Linked DNA regions of Homo sapiens: all the other regions are linked to region 4. Evidence: promoter capture Hi-C in 16 types of primary human blood cells and fetal thymus (Javierre and others, 2016). All regions are on one chromosome and are shown on one strand. The core of a region is centred on a gene start or on the middle of the fragment in contact, and the rest is flanking DNA. Distances in the headings are between cores, read along the strand shown.

What was found. The method cuts DNA at HindIII sites, captures the fragments that hold promoters and counts their contacts. A CHiCAGO score of 5 or more calls a contact.
Region 1: a contact is called between the fragment with the promoter of BBS5 here and a fragment that was not itself captured in region 4, in 6 of 17 cell types (naive CD8 T cells, naive B cells, M1 macrophages and 3 more). The highest score is 5.7, in naive CD8 T cells.
Region 2: the fragment with the promoter of PPIG here is called in contact with a fragment that was not itself captured in region 4 in 1 of 17 cell types (non-activated CD4 T cells); the score reaches 5.4 in non-activated CD4 T cells.
Region 3: the fragment with the promoter of KLHL41 here is called in contact with a fragment that was not itself captured in region 4 in 8 of 17 cell types (naive B cells, activated CD4 T cells, total CD8 T cells and 5 more); the score reaches 10.5 in naive B cells.

What each region holds. Positions count from the first base shown.
Region 1 is chr2:169,477,473-169,480,899 of GRCh38, reverse strand. It overlaps BBS5 (Bardet-Biedl syndrome 5), which reads right to left and starts at 1,406. Exons shown (of 12, transcript NM_152384.3): 1 at 1,288-1,406. The coding sequence starts at 1,346. RefSeq lists enhancers at 1,133-1,472, 1,483-1,592. The HindIII fragment of the contact is 729 bases long and covers 739-1,467 here.
Region 2 is chr2:169,582,785-169,586,182 of GRCh38, reverse strand. PPIG (peptidylprolyl isomerase G) reads right to left here and starts at 1,832. Exons shown (of 14, transcript NM_004792.3): 1 at 1,693-1,832. RefSeq lists an enhancer at 1,867-1,916. The HindIII fragment of the contact is 789 bases long and covers 1,319-2,107 here.
Region 3 is chr2:169,508,195-169,511,225 of GRCh38, reverse strand. It overlaps KLHL41 (kelch like family member 41), which reads right to left and starts at 1,524. Exons shown (of 6, transcript NM_006063.3): 1 at 338-1,524. The coding sequence starts at 1,447. The HindIII fragment of the contact is 4,398 bases long and covers 1-1,735 here.
Region 4 is chr2:169,940,422-169,943,796 of GRCh38, reverse strand. UBR3 (ubiquitin protein ligase E3 component n-recognin 3) reads right to left here. Exons shown (of 39, transcript NM_172070.4): 20 at 1,163-1,304. Among named protein-coding and RNA genes, the nearest start is that of UBR3, 110 kb to the right of the region's middle. The HindIII fragment of the contact is 1,321 bases long and covers 1,134-2,454 here.

The DNA of each region.
Region 1 (3,427 bases), core at 157-2,656, 460 kb after region 4:
TCGAGACCAGCCTCAACATGGAGAAACCCCGTCTCTACTAAAAATACAAAATTAGCCAGGCGTGTTGGTGCGTGCCTGTAATCCCAGCTACTCTGGAGGCTGAGGCAGGAGAATTGCTTGAACCTGGGAGGCGGAGGTCGCAGTGAGCCGAGATCGCGTCATTGCACTCCAGCCTGGGCAACAAGAGCGAAACTCTGTCTCAAAAAAAAAAAAAAAAAAAAAAAAAAAAGAATGACAGAAAATGTCATAGAAAGTGCGCAATATGTTACTACAGTCCGTAATTTTACGAATTCCTTTCTCTTTCATCTTCTTAAAGGGTCTAACATGTTAGCATTAGATATCTAGCTATACTTAACCTGAGAAATTTATCAATATTTCATTTTTCCATCTAAGGAGGTGAGGTCCATGATAAGGAACGATTCCATCTAAGGAGGTGAGGTCCATGATAAGGAACGATTCCACCTAAGGAGGGGAGGTCCATGATAAGGAACGATAAGAAGTAGCTAAGAAGCTCCATGCCATTAATCCAGGAATCTTAGCTTTAGCGTTTCTCAACACTTAGTAACCCAACCGGCATTTCCCGCCCTGGATTTTGGAGTAGGAGGTTTCTAACCACTTTTTCTTTACGATACTTTCCAAAAACATGGTTTCTATTTAATGTATGATAATTTCCAAAAACAGGTTGCAAAAGAAGACTCCTTCTTGTTGGTGACTGATATGAATAACTAGATGAAAGCTTACCAAGGACATAAAGTTTGCGCGGTTAGTAATTTTTGACGACTGCCTTACTCCCACCTCCCTTATTTTACAGACATGAGGATTCTAGCTTGAATGATGAAGACATCTGCTCAAGGGCCCACACTGTGGGTCGATATTACACATCTACTTTTAGAACCCTAGTTTCCTGAGTCCCTGACCTACGTTCCTTCCATGAAACTGAAATCCCAAGCTCACGTGGGTGTATACGGGACGCTAAGCCCCGGGTGGCCCCGGTCGTGCTCAGGTTCACATTCCTGATCCGTCCCGCGGGCCAGGATGGGGGAACCGGAGGTCGCATGGGACCAAAACTGTGTAATGCCGATGCGCTCTTGCCGCGGCGCCGGCCTCGAGAGGGCCACAGTGGCCCAACCAGCCTGAGGTCTCTCGAGGCGCGGACGACCGGCGCAAGCCTCCCACCCTCACCAGGGCCGCGAGCTGCGGAGGTGCAGTCTCCGCCCGCGGGTCCCTAACGCGCACGGCGGCGCCCTCTACAGGGTTGAAGATCCCTCGGGAATCTTGGAAACTCACTGCGCGGACAGGTCGAAACGGACATCCCGATCCTCCCAAAGCGCATCCAGCACCGACATGGTGAACAAGGCCCGTGGCAGGATCTCTCCACAGCCGTGCAGGCCTAGCTGCGTCTCTCTGGCTCCAAGGCAACGGGCCGCCTCTGTCACGACGTCTACGGCGGGCGCCGAGACTCAAGCTTCCGCGAGAGTGCGCGCGCGTCGCCCAGCTCTTTCGCGTCGTTAAGCCGATTTGAGATGCGAGGCAGGATTTAGGAGTCTCTGAGAAGCCCAGCTGTGTCCGCCAAGGGGAGCGTGCCTGACCTCTGGGCGACCTTCCTTGCCTCCAAACAGACATCCTTTAGCCATTTTACCCCTCTCCTTATTTCTCTTCACCGTCAAGAGATTCAGGTTATTAGCCGGGCATGGTGGCTTCTGCCTGTAATCCCTGCAGTTTGGGAGGCCGAGGCTGGAGGATCACTTGAGGCCAGGAATTCGAGACTAGCCTGGGCAACATAGCGAAACTTCATCTCTACAAACACAAACAAACAAACAAAACCAACCCAAAATTAGCCAGGGGTGGTGGTGCACGCCTGCAGGCTCAACTACTCGGGAGGCTGAGGCGGGAGGATCTCTTGAACCCAAGAGGTGGAGGCTGCGGGGAGCTATGATCGTGCCTCTGCCCTCCAGCCTAGGTGATAGAGATATAGGATCAACAGGTTCGTATGCCTGCTGTGCAGTAACAAACCCATTACACGAAGACAGCAGAGTTTGCAGCAGGGAAAGAGTTTAATGATTGCAGGGCACCTAGCAAAGAGATGGGAAGAGATCCTCGAATCTATCTTCCCAAGAGTTCTGGGCTGAGGTTTTTAAGAGGATCACAGAGGGCGAGGGGCTGGAAAATTGGGGTCCTTGATTGGTCGGAGTAAGGGAGATGAAATCATCAGGATAGGGAAGCTGCATTCTTTGCTGAATCAGTTTCTCACGGGTTCCTCAGACCAGCTGGCATCAGTGGGATCCTTCAGGCCAGCTGAGGCAGTAGTTTCATTGGTATGCAGGATCTGAAAGACTATCTCAAAGGGAAAACTGAGTATTTCATAATGTTCAAGTTGTTCTCTATAGAGCAATAGAAGGGAACTATAATCTTGTGACAGGGTCTGCATGATTCTAGGACAATAGGCACCAAACAACTCTGAGCAAGCAGGTCAGAGAGGAAGCTGACCTCATGATTAATGCCGAATTGGCTGCAAGCTTGGTTTATTTTTGTCCCCTCCCCCACACTTTCTTCCCTGATTACTTTTATAAATTTTATTGGGATGGTTTTAGAATGAGGAAAAAAGAAATTTAGAGTTAAAGCTTCAAATTCCTTACCTGGGCCTAGCTCAATGTGGCCCTGCCTATGTCTGCAACCTCCAACCACCCTCACTTCTGGCTGCTCTCTTGCCAGACAGGGCTCAGAGACTTTGGAGGGCCCCCTTCCTTTGCCTGGAACACTGTTTCCCCAGACCTCTGCATAGGCCTGCCCTTTGTCACTTAAATCTCTGCTTGGGCTGGGCGCTGTGGCTCAGGCCTGTAATCCCAGCACTTTGGGAGGCCGAGGTGGGCGGATCACCTGAGGTCAGGAGTTCGAGACCAGCCTGGCCAACATGGTGAAACCCCATCTCTACTAAAAACCCCAAATTAGCTGGGCACGGTGGTGGACGCCTGTAATCCCAGCTACTCGGGAGCCTGAGGCAGGAGAATCACTTGAACCCGGGAGGCGGAGGTTGCAGTGAGCCGAGATCACACCATTGCACTCCAGCCTGGGCAACAAGAGCGAAACTCTGGCTCCAAAAAAAAGTCAAATCAAATCAAATCAAATCACATCTCAGCTCACATGTCAACTCCAGCAGTCCCTGATCCTTCTGCCCCACCTGCTGTGAACAACCCGAGGACAGACACCTGATCTATCTAGTTGACTGCTTTGAACAATACCCAGCACAGAGTAGGACCCAGTAAATACTTCTTGAATGAATCAAAGTCCCTTTTCTCAATGCATGACAATTATTTAAATTAGTGGTTCACAAAGACTGATCTGGATCCCTACAGGGGGCCCACAAGGTCAAACTATATTCATAATAATGTGAAGACATCATTTGCCTTTTTAACTCCCATTCACATAT
Region 2 (3,398 bases), core at 583-3,082, 360 kb after region 4:
ATTCTGAATCATAAAGAAATAGTCAAACAATGTACAATGAACTCTTGTTTAAGACACAGAACCATGTAATTTGTTACAGAAATAATTCTGTCCCAACTCGTTAACATAAAAAAAAGGGGAGTGCTAAAACGGGTAAATTTTCAGGATATATTAAAAACAGGAGAGAAGCAGCCATTCTAAATGTATCTTTTCTGGATTTTATAGCACGATTTCAAAATTTATAAAATGTTCACCCCCCCACCCGTCATTGTTACAAAGTAGCAATTACCGGCCATCCTGTTACCAAATGGGAATACACAAAGACAAAAACGTGTGTGTGACCGACACACACACACACTCACTCTTTTTTCCTGGTTTTAACTACTGAAAGTTAATATCAGGCCCCCCTAATTTCTAAAACATCTAATTGTTCTTTGGACAACTATGTTAGTACCAAACTATAAAAGCAAATACTTTTGTATTTGTGTTCACTACTGCAAAATGTTGGTTACACACAGAAAGGGCTATCGTGGAAAGAAATTAAAATCAATGCACAAAATGGTGCTTTTATAGCATTTCCAAAACGATTGTGCATACTCCTTGCCAGCACATCTAGACTTTGCTCCTTAAGACTAAACATGAGCTGGCCGTGCGCGGTGGCTCTCGCCTGTAATCCCAGCACTTTGGGAGGCCGAGGTGGGCGGATCACGAGGTCAGGAGATCGACCATCCTGGCTAACACGGTGAAAACCCGTCTCTACTAAAAACACAAAAAATTAGCCGGGCATGGTGGCACGTGCCTGTAGTCCCAGCTACTTGGGAGGCTGAGGCAGAAGAATCACTTGAACCCAGGAGGCGGAGGTTGCAGTGAGCCAAGATCGCGCCACTGCATTCCAGCCTAGGCGACAGAGCGAGACTCCGTCTCAAAAAAAAAGACTAACCAAGAACCAAATTAGCATACTTCCCCTTCAGGCATACTGAGCCCCGAAATCATCATCTTCCTCCTAAAGAGTAATTATCTCCTCCTAAAAGGCCTGCGCAGCTCACAGCTCCTCCGAAACACGGGGGAACTTCGCGAGAGCTCAAGACCCTGGACTTGAGTTTTAGAAAAATGCTTAACAAAGTGGCCTCTGCCACTTAACTGCACGACAGCCACTGTGCTGTGAGAGGAAAAGGTCGAAAGAGGAGGAAAGCTAGTCTTCAATTTTAATCCCTGTGATTCAGGCTCTTCGCCCGTCACTCTCCAACCCTAGCCTGACAGGACGTCAGGCTGTCTCCCCCTTCCCCACCAGTCCCGCCACCTACCCCGCAACAGTGCTGAGTCTTAGGATTTTGAAGCTTTAAAAATCAACCCGGCTCCCTAGAGTTCAGGCCGCAGTCGCTGCCGCCATGTTACAGCTTGTGCGGCAAAATGCGTCAGTGAGGGAGGTGTGCGCCTGAGTGGGGAGGGCGGGGGCTGGCAGAGGAAGGACCGTCCCCAGGCCCCGGGGCTCGACTGCAAGCCTTCTCCTTCTGCAACAGCGGCAAAGGCACTGCTGCGGTCCTCAGGGACTTCCTCTGGGCCCAAGCAGCCCCGATACCTCGAGGGAAAGACGGTAAACCCAACCCGGTCAGCCGCGCCGGCTCCGCCCCTCTTCCCAGGCCCTTCCCGCTTTCGTACGCAGGGACTGCTGAAATGACGCCGCCAGAACAACTTGAGCCTCATACCACTTACCTGCACCGGTAGAGTTTTCCTCTTCTCTGGGTCCGGTCCTTTGAAGCGCTTCAAATCTACCGCCGCCAGAAAAGGCGCTAAAGCCCGCTAACCGCCTCCCTCCCCCACAACTCAGTCCTGGCATGGAGAGACAGCGTCGCACCGGAAGCGCGTCAGGAGTGGGTTGTCAGCATCGGCCAGCGTTCACCTGCTTGCGTCACCACGCCCTCCTAGGACTTCTAGGATTTTGGTGCCTTTTAAATTCCTAGTTTATAGGTGGCCTAATGCTTTGTGGATGCGTTGACTGGGAACGCTTGTAACCGTTAAAATGCCATATCCTTTGTGAAGTAAAGTGCCTCATTTAATAAACATTTATTGATCTTACGCTAGGTTATCAGAAAGGAAGGCCTACCTTCATGGAGCTTCCAGTTAAGCTTCCACTTAACGCTAGGATATAAGTTCTAAAAACGCAGTAATGAGCAAAGTGTTATTTGAGGAAAGAGGAAGAAATTACAAAGAGCTTTGATGTTCTTTGTTGTTTTACAGATAAAGAAATTGAGGCTCAGGGAAGATAAACGCCTCCTCCTCAAACACACTGTTCTTGAATGCCAAAGCAAGTCTTTTGATGCCAAATCTAGTGCCTTCTAGAGAAAATATGGCATATATTATTTAATTATTTTAAGGGGCAAGGGTCCCCGGATTATGTTAGAAATAAATAACCATTGCTGTTTGGGCGGGGGGGTGGGGGGGGATGGGCAGTGATTCTGGTAGGGATGTGGGGTGTGTTTTAAAGGAACTAGCTAACTAGAGGACTTAAATTGTTCTGTCGTTTAAAGGCAACGTAAATTATGATCATTTAAATTTTTCACTCACTTGCATCAGGTAAATTAATTATCAACAACAGTTAGGCATGTGGTGGTGCTTCTAAGGGGCGTGACCAGTTTTACACAGCAGTAAAACAGAGGACATTTCTGCCTCTCCACCCCCACCTCTTTTAAGTCATTGCCCTTTATTGCAGGAGAGCAGCAGCATATTCATCTTTAGATAGTTCAGAGATTAAACGGATTTACACTTCGCTGTGTGTGGAGGGGACAATTCTGCAATACCTTAAAACAGGGGTCCCCAACCCCTGGGCCACAGACTGGCCTGGCTAATTTTTTGTATTTTTAGTAGAGACAGGGTTTCTCCATGTAGGTCAGGCTGGTCTCAAACTCCCAACCTCAGGTGATCCGTCCTCCTTGGCCTCCCAAAGTGCCGGGATTACAGGTGTGAGCCACCACGCCCGGCCAACGCTTTTCGAAAGAAGACATACTTGCAGCCAACAATCATAATGAAAAAGCTCAACACCACCAATCATCAGAAAAATGCAAATCAAAACCGCAGTGAGATACTATCTCATACCAGTCAGAATGGCTATTATTAAAAAGTCAAAAAATAACAGGTGCTGGTGAGGTTGTGGAGAAAAAGGAACATTTTACAGTGCTGGTGGGAGTTTAAATGAATTCAACTATTGTGGAAGACAGCGTGGCGATTCCTCAAAGACCTAGAGGCAGAAATACCATTTGACCCAGCAATCACATTACTGGGTATATACCCAAAGGAATATAAGTTGTTCTGTTATAAAGACATACACATATGTATGTTCATTGCCACACTATTCACAATAGCGAAGACATGGAGTCAACCTAAATGTCCATCAATGGTAGACTTGATAAAGAAAATGTGGT
Region 3 (3,031 bases), core at 275-2,774, 430 kb after region 4:
AAAAATAAATTTAGTTTTTACTAAAATACTGGGCTTTGAGGGATTACAGTCACGATCATCTATAAACAAGGCATTTTTGGTAAAATAGTATAAAGAACATCTTAAGTCATTAAACATGAATTAGAACCTCATTATTCACCAAACTTTTTATTACACATTAACAAAGCAGTCAAATATTTTTCTGTCAACGCTCTATACAGCAAAAGTGCAAGGGACTGGAATAGGACATCAATTAGAGTAAAATGCAAGCAGCTTGAATAATTCACAAATTGGCTAACTGGATGGTGAGTAACAGCCTTCCCTTTAAGCAACTACATATACAAAAAGTCCTTCTTACCTGGAAGAAGTATGACTGTAGAGGTTGATCCTTATTTTCTTCATCCACATATAGTCCTCCTACCACATATATCTGATTTTGCTGGGTAACAATGCTGGAATGATTTCTGGGAATCTGCTCAGCCAGTGCAGTAAGGTAGCATTCATTTTCCGTGGGGTCATAAGCCACTGCTGCTGTGTCATTAACCAAGAGGATGAGGTCTTTTACAAACATTCCATGCCTGGGAATGTCATTCAGGTAACCAGGAAGTAAATCTTCATCACCAACATCACCATTCACCTCACCAGCCCCAGTCTTCGCGGCATTTTTGCTAGGTTCTGGGAGTTTGCCTGCGAAAGCATCTTTTAGAACTTTGATTTTTTTCTGGAGGTCTGGGTTGCTTTTAATTATATCATCTTTCTCAACATGATCCTTAAAATATTTTTCTGTCATAAGGCGAAAACGGATACAATCAAACACTTCACTAAGGTTTTTAACCCTGTTTTCCTTGTCTGTTCGCACCCATTTCATCACTGCCTCAAATACTGCTTCTTCTTTTTCTACATTTAGGCTGTCATTTGAAATGACTGAGATCAGTTCCTGTGGAGACAGTTGCATAAAGTCCTCTTCCTTACAAATCTGTACAAAGCGATCAGACACAAATTCACGGGCAGAAATGGCGAGTCTCGGGCAGTCAAGAAGAAGTCCTAATCTTAGGATGGCTAGACAGTTACCAGGAGCAAGTCTTTTCTGAAGATAAGAAACGCAGACAGTAAACACTGAGGGGATCTGAAAGCGGCTGGCCAATGCAAAAATATCTTGCACATTTCCGTCATTGAGATCAATACTGGCAGAGTACAGGTATTTGATGATTAAATCAAGTATAGCAGGATCCACATTGTCTAGCACTACCTCCTTTTTTTTCGCCTCATCAATTTCAGATAAAAAGTACTCACGGAAGTAAGGACTACAAGCTGACAAAATCAATCTGTGGCAAGGAAGACTTTTGTCACCTGCTTTTAGGGTGCAATCGATGAATTTTTTCTCATCCAGGAGATCTTTTAGACCATCCTGAAGAAGGGTGGATTGGTAAAGCCGCAGTTCCTCTGCAAGTTCCCGCTGGGAATCCATTCTGTGAGAAACCTGGGTAAGGAAGGGGACACTGAAGGCCTTAGCTCCTTGCAGCACACAGGTCTAGCTGTAAAAAGGCAGATCAGTGTGCTTTGCCCAGCTTGAAGCCTTTGCAATTTAATCCCACTAGCTAAATATAGATACCAACTCTAACAACGGGAATTTAGGAGAGCTGGCTTGGAAAGAAGAGTTGTTCTTGCAGCTGTTATAGATTGAAAGTAACAACTGGAACTTTTAATCACTAGGGAAACAGCTAAGAAACAAGACATTTAAGTGAAGTTGAAAGCTTAAAAATACATAACACATTAGAAGATATACTAATAAAGGCTACTACAAGAAAATGTTTATTGAATTAACAGAAAAATGAATCATAAAAATGAGTCACTCCTCTAAATATGTTCTAGTGTCAAGCTACTTGGCTCTCTGAATTAATGATGCAAAGGTCAAGAATATGAGATGTGTTCATTTGAATACTCATAAGCAAGATCTCATTTCCAATAATTGTTAACATACAAATTTTTACTTTCTACTCAGAACAGTGGGATATAGATATTTCTTTTAGAAGTAGTAAACTTAAAGATGTTTACTTCTGTACTAGTTTTACAAAACCTTTAATGTTGCCATGATAATTGAAAAAAGAAATGCAGAGGAATTGCTAATTTTCTAAAACATTCCAAATTATTCTTACATGGAAAAACTGTAATTAATATTGAATTAAATTATAAAATTATTTATTCATATCCTGCCTTGTCATACAAATGATCTAATGTGGCAAACGATAATAAGGTAAAATAAAAGCAAAAGGTTAAAAGGAATCACAGAGCCAGAAAAAATAATTAAAAGTCAATCTAGGGAACGAAAAAGTCCACACACATTCAAATAAGATCACAAAAGATAATCTGTAATTTTAAATATCAAAAATTATCATTCATTAAATAAAACGTGAAAAATAGAACAGATATAACCCCATGAGAACAATGTTATCACTAAACACAGCAAAATCAAGATGAACTCCTACAATGGTCATAGAGAACAGCCCCCCCTTTTTTTAAAGAGTATATAACTGGGGACATAACGTAGGCTGTTGATTATAATAGAATACCATATTAATTATGGAGGTAGAAGTAATGATTTGAAAGAAAATCGGTCCTTTGTTTATATATAGATGGTATAATATACTTCATTAAATACTTTCATTTATTTATTTATTTTTGAGACAGAGTCTCGCTCTGTCACCCAGGCTGGAGTACAATGGCGCAGTCTCGGCTCACTGCAACTTCTGCCTCCCGGGTTCAAGCAATTCTCTTGCCTCAGCCTCCCGAGTAGCTGGGATTACAGGCACCCGCCACCATGCCTGGCTAATTTTTGTATTTTTAGTAGAGACAGGGTTTCATCATGTTGGCCAGGCTGGTCTCGAACTGCTGACCTCGCGATCCGCCTGCCTCGGCCTCCCAAATTGCTGGGATTACACGTGTGAGCCACCGCACTGGGCCCATTAAATACTTTATTACACAGTCATATTGTCACATTATCTGAACTCAAGTAGGGCTGTAGAAATACTGTAATTTCAAAAGTTGGTATTTT
Region 4 (3,375 bases), core at 545-3,044:
ATTGGAAATTTGTATAACAAATATTCTCATTTTTCTTTGAATTTCTTTTAATTTTTAATTTTTCAAATTCTAATTAGGAAGAAGAACAATAGGTTTTCTTTGTATCTACCTGCATAACATTTATCATGTCTATATAGTTATATTATCTACATGAGTATAGTTATTTTCTTTTTTCTTTCATCTTTCTTCCCCCTCCAAGTTGGAGTCCTGCTCTGTCACCCAGGCTGGAGTGCAGTGGCACAATCTGGGCTCACTGCAACCTCCACCTCCCGGGTTCAAGCAATTCTCCTGCCTTGGCCTCCTGAGAAGCTGGGATTACAGGCGCCCACCACCACACCCACCTAATTTTTGTATTTTTAGTAGAGACAGGGTTTCACCATGTTGGCCAGGCTGGTCTCGAACTCCTGACCTCGTGATCTGCCCACCTCAGCCTCCCAAAGTGCTGGGATTACAGGCGTGAGCCACCGCGCCCAGCCTTCTTTCATCTTTCATGCAGATGAGATTATAAAAATCCCTATTATATACACACATACATACTATACAATATTATGCTTCACACAAGTTTTTGAGTACACAATTAATGTTAGTCAAATAAATCTGTCTTACGTGAGAAGATCCCAAAATAAAACAAATTTTAGATAACAAGCAAGTAAAAGCATCATCTTGTTAGTTCCTAAAATGTTTATCAAAAACAATTTTTGATCTTGCCACATAGAAACCACACTCAAATCCTTCCACGTCACTTTCCTGATTAGAGGGAAAAAGCAAAAAGAACCCCCCAACCTAAGATTCACTGCCTCACATAACTGCCATTCTAGTTTTGTCATTTTAGTGGGTTCTGATGGTTGTTTGGTCCCTGTAGCTCATTCCACACCTCCTGTAGTTCCACGGTATTTCACTTACTGTTCTACAGAATCCATAAATAAATACTTTTATCGGTAGCTAGATAAGATAAATAGTTTCTCACAAAGAATGCTGTAGCTATTCTGTTATGTTCAACTTGGATTTCAAATACATGTGATTATAACATATCTTCATACATCTTAAATGCATAAATACACTTTGCTTTATAAGTGGTACTTTTATGTAAATATTATCCTTTAGGATTATTATTTGAAAATAAATTCTAAGCTTAGTCTTTCTATTCAAATTACTACTGTACCTTGTAAAGCAGAGTGAATAGCACAATGTGTAAAGTTTTACAGTGCAAAAGTCTCATAAGACCTTTATAGCTAGGATGGAGTGATGTCCTTTTCTTATATGGAGGCCAGGGATTTCCAGGAAATTTTCCACTCTGTTTTAAACTGTAAAAATAAAACAAAACTAGAATTAGATGATAGCCTCAAAATCAAACTGTGGTTTAAATGTAATTTATAGACACCAATTTCTGTCACAATATTTTATGCAGTGCTATTTTTAATCAAATTGCTTAAAATGCCAAAGAGGTATCTATTCTCTACACAATGAACATTACTATTTCTTTTCCTAATGGCTAAAGATGAGTAAAGAGAGCTAAGCTGAAAATTAAAAAATATATAAACTTTAAAGTGCTAACAAAGAGAAATGAACAGAAAGAATACACATGAAGTACTCAGCAAGGAAATTTCCAGCTGTAACGATTAAGCAAAATAGACGACCTGAAAATTCTCCCACTACGAATGGTTGGAAAAGCTGGATAAAATATAAATGTAATCTTTTGAATGCGTATTTGAGCTCACACAAAAGTGGAATTCTCCAGTTACCAGAAAAAAAGAAGGAATTAATGACAAGCACTAACACTGTGCCAGTGGTTTTAAAGTCCTTGAGCAAACAGATCACAAGGTATGTTGGGCTCACACAAGGCTCAGAGATAGAACTGATATCCCATCTAAAGCTGAGACCCTTGACAGGCTTTACCCTCACTGAAAGAGTAACTCACAAGGAGAATGAATTAGCTTGTCTGTCTCTTCTGGGATGTAAGAACAAGTTCCCCAAGAAGATAATTATGAACTTGTATGCAAATACAGTAGTCCCCTCTTATCTTCAGGGAACACGTTCCAAAGCCCCCAGTAGATGCCTGAAAATATGGATAATAACAAACTCTCTACATACTATGTTTTCCTACACATACATACCTATGATAAAGGTTAATTTATAAATTAGACACAGTAAGAGATTAACAACAGTAAGTGATAATAGATTACAGCAATATACTGTAATAAAAGTTAGGTGAATGTGTACATGCTTTCTCTCTCAAAATACCTTATGTATAGTAGTCCCCCTTATACCTAGTTTCACTTTCCACAGTTTCAGTTACCCATGGTCAACCATGGTCAGAAAATATTAAATGAAAATCTCCAGAAATAATTCACAGGTTTTCAATTGGATGCCATTCGGAGTATTGTTATAATTGTTTTATTTTATCTTTAGTTATTACTGTTAATCTCTCACTATCTCTAATTTATAAATTAAGCTTTATCATAGGTATGTATTGTAGGAGAAAAACATAGTATATATAGGGTTTGGATACCATCCCTCATTTCAGGCATCCACTGTGGGTCTTGGAACATGTCCTGAGGATAAGAGGGGGACCATTGTACTATACTCACTCCTGTTATTCTTGGGATGATATGAGATGATAAAATGCCTATGTGATGAGATGAAGTGAAGTGAATGATGGTAAGCACTGTGACATGGTATCGGGCTACTAATGACCTTCTAACAACATGTCATCAGAAGGAGGAATATCTGCTTCAGGTGATCCTGAATCATCAGGCCATGACAATGTGATGGCTGGATGTCAGGAGCAGACAATGTCAATAACTAACAAGTGAGTAGTATATACAGCATGGTACACTGGACTAAGGAACAATCCATATTCCAGGTGGGACAGAGCAGGATGGCACAAGAATTCATCATCCTGCTTATAATGGCATATAATTTAAAATCTATAAATTACTTATTTCTGGAATTTTCCATTTAATATTTTCGGACAGCCATTGGCTACAGGTAACTGAAAGTACAGAAAACTAAACCACAGATAAGAGGGGACAACTGTAATAGCAGCCTCATAATACAAAAGGCAAATTTTGAGGGAATTACACAGAGAAAACGACAAATCTACAACCATAGTAAAGGATATTAACATACTTATCTAAATGAGAGCCAGAAAAACATTGGTAAACAGTTTTAAGATTTTTAACAACACAATTAAGAAGCATGGGCAAAGGCAACATGCAACAAGTAGTGAATACACATAATTTTAACAGCGCTTAGAATATTTATAAAAATTGACTATGTAGAATGCAAAGTAAATCTCAAAAATATCAAAAAAACAGATACATGAACCACATTCACTTGTCACATAGCAAATAAAACTAGAAACCAACTTAAAAA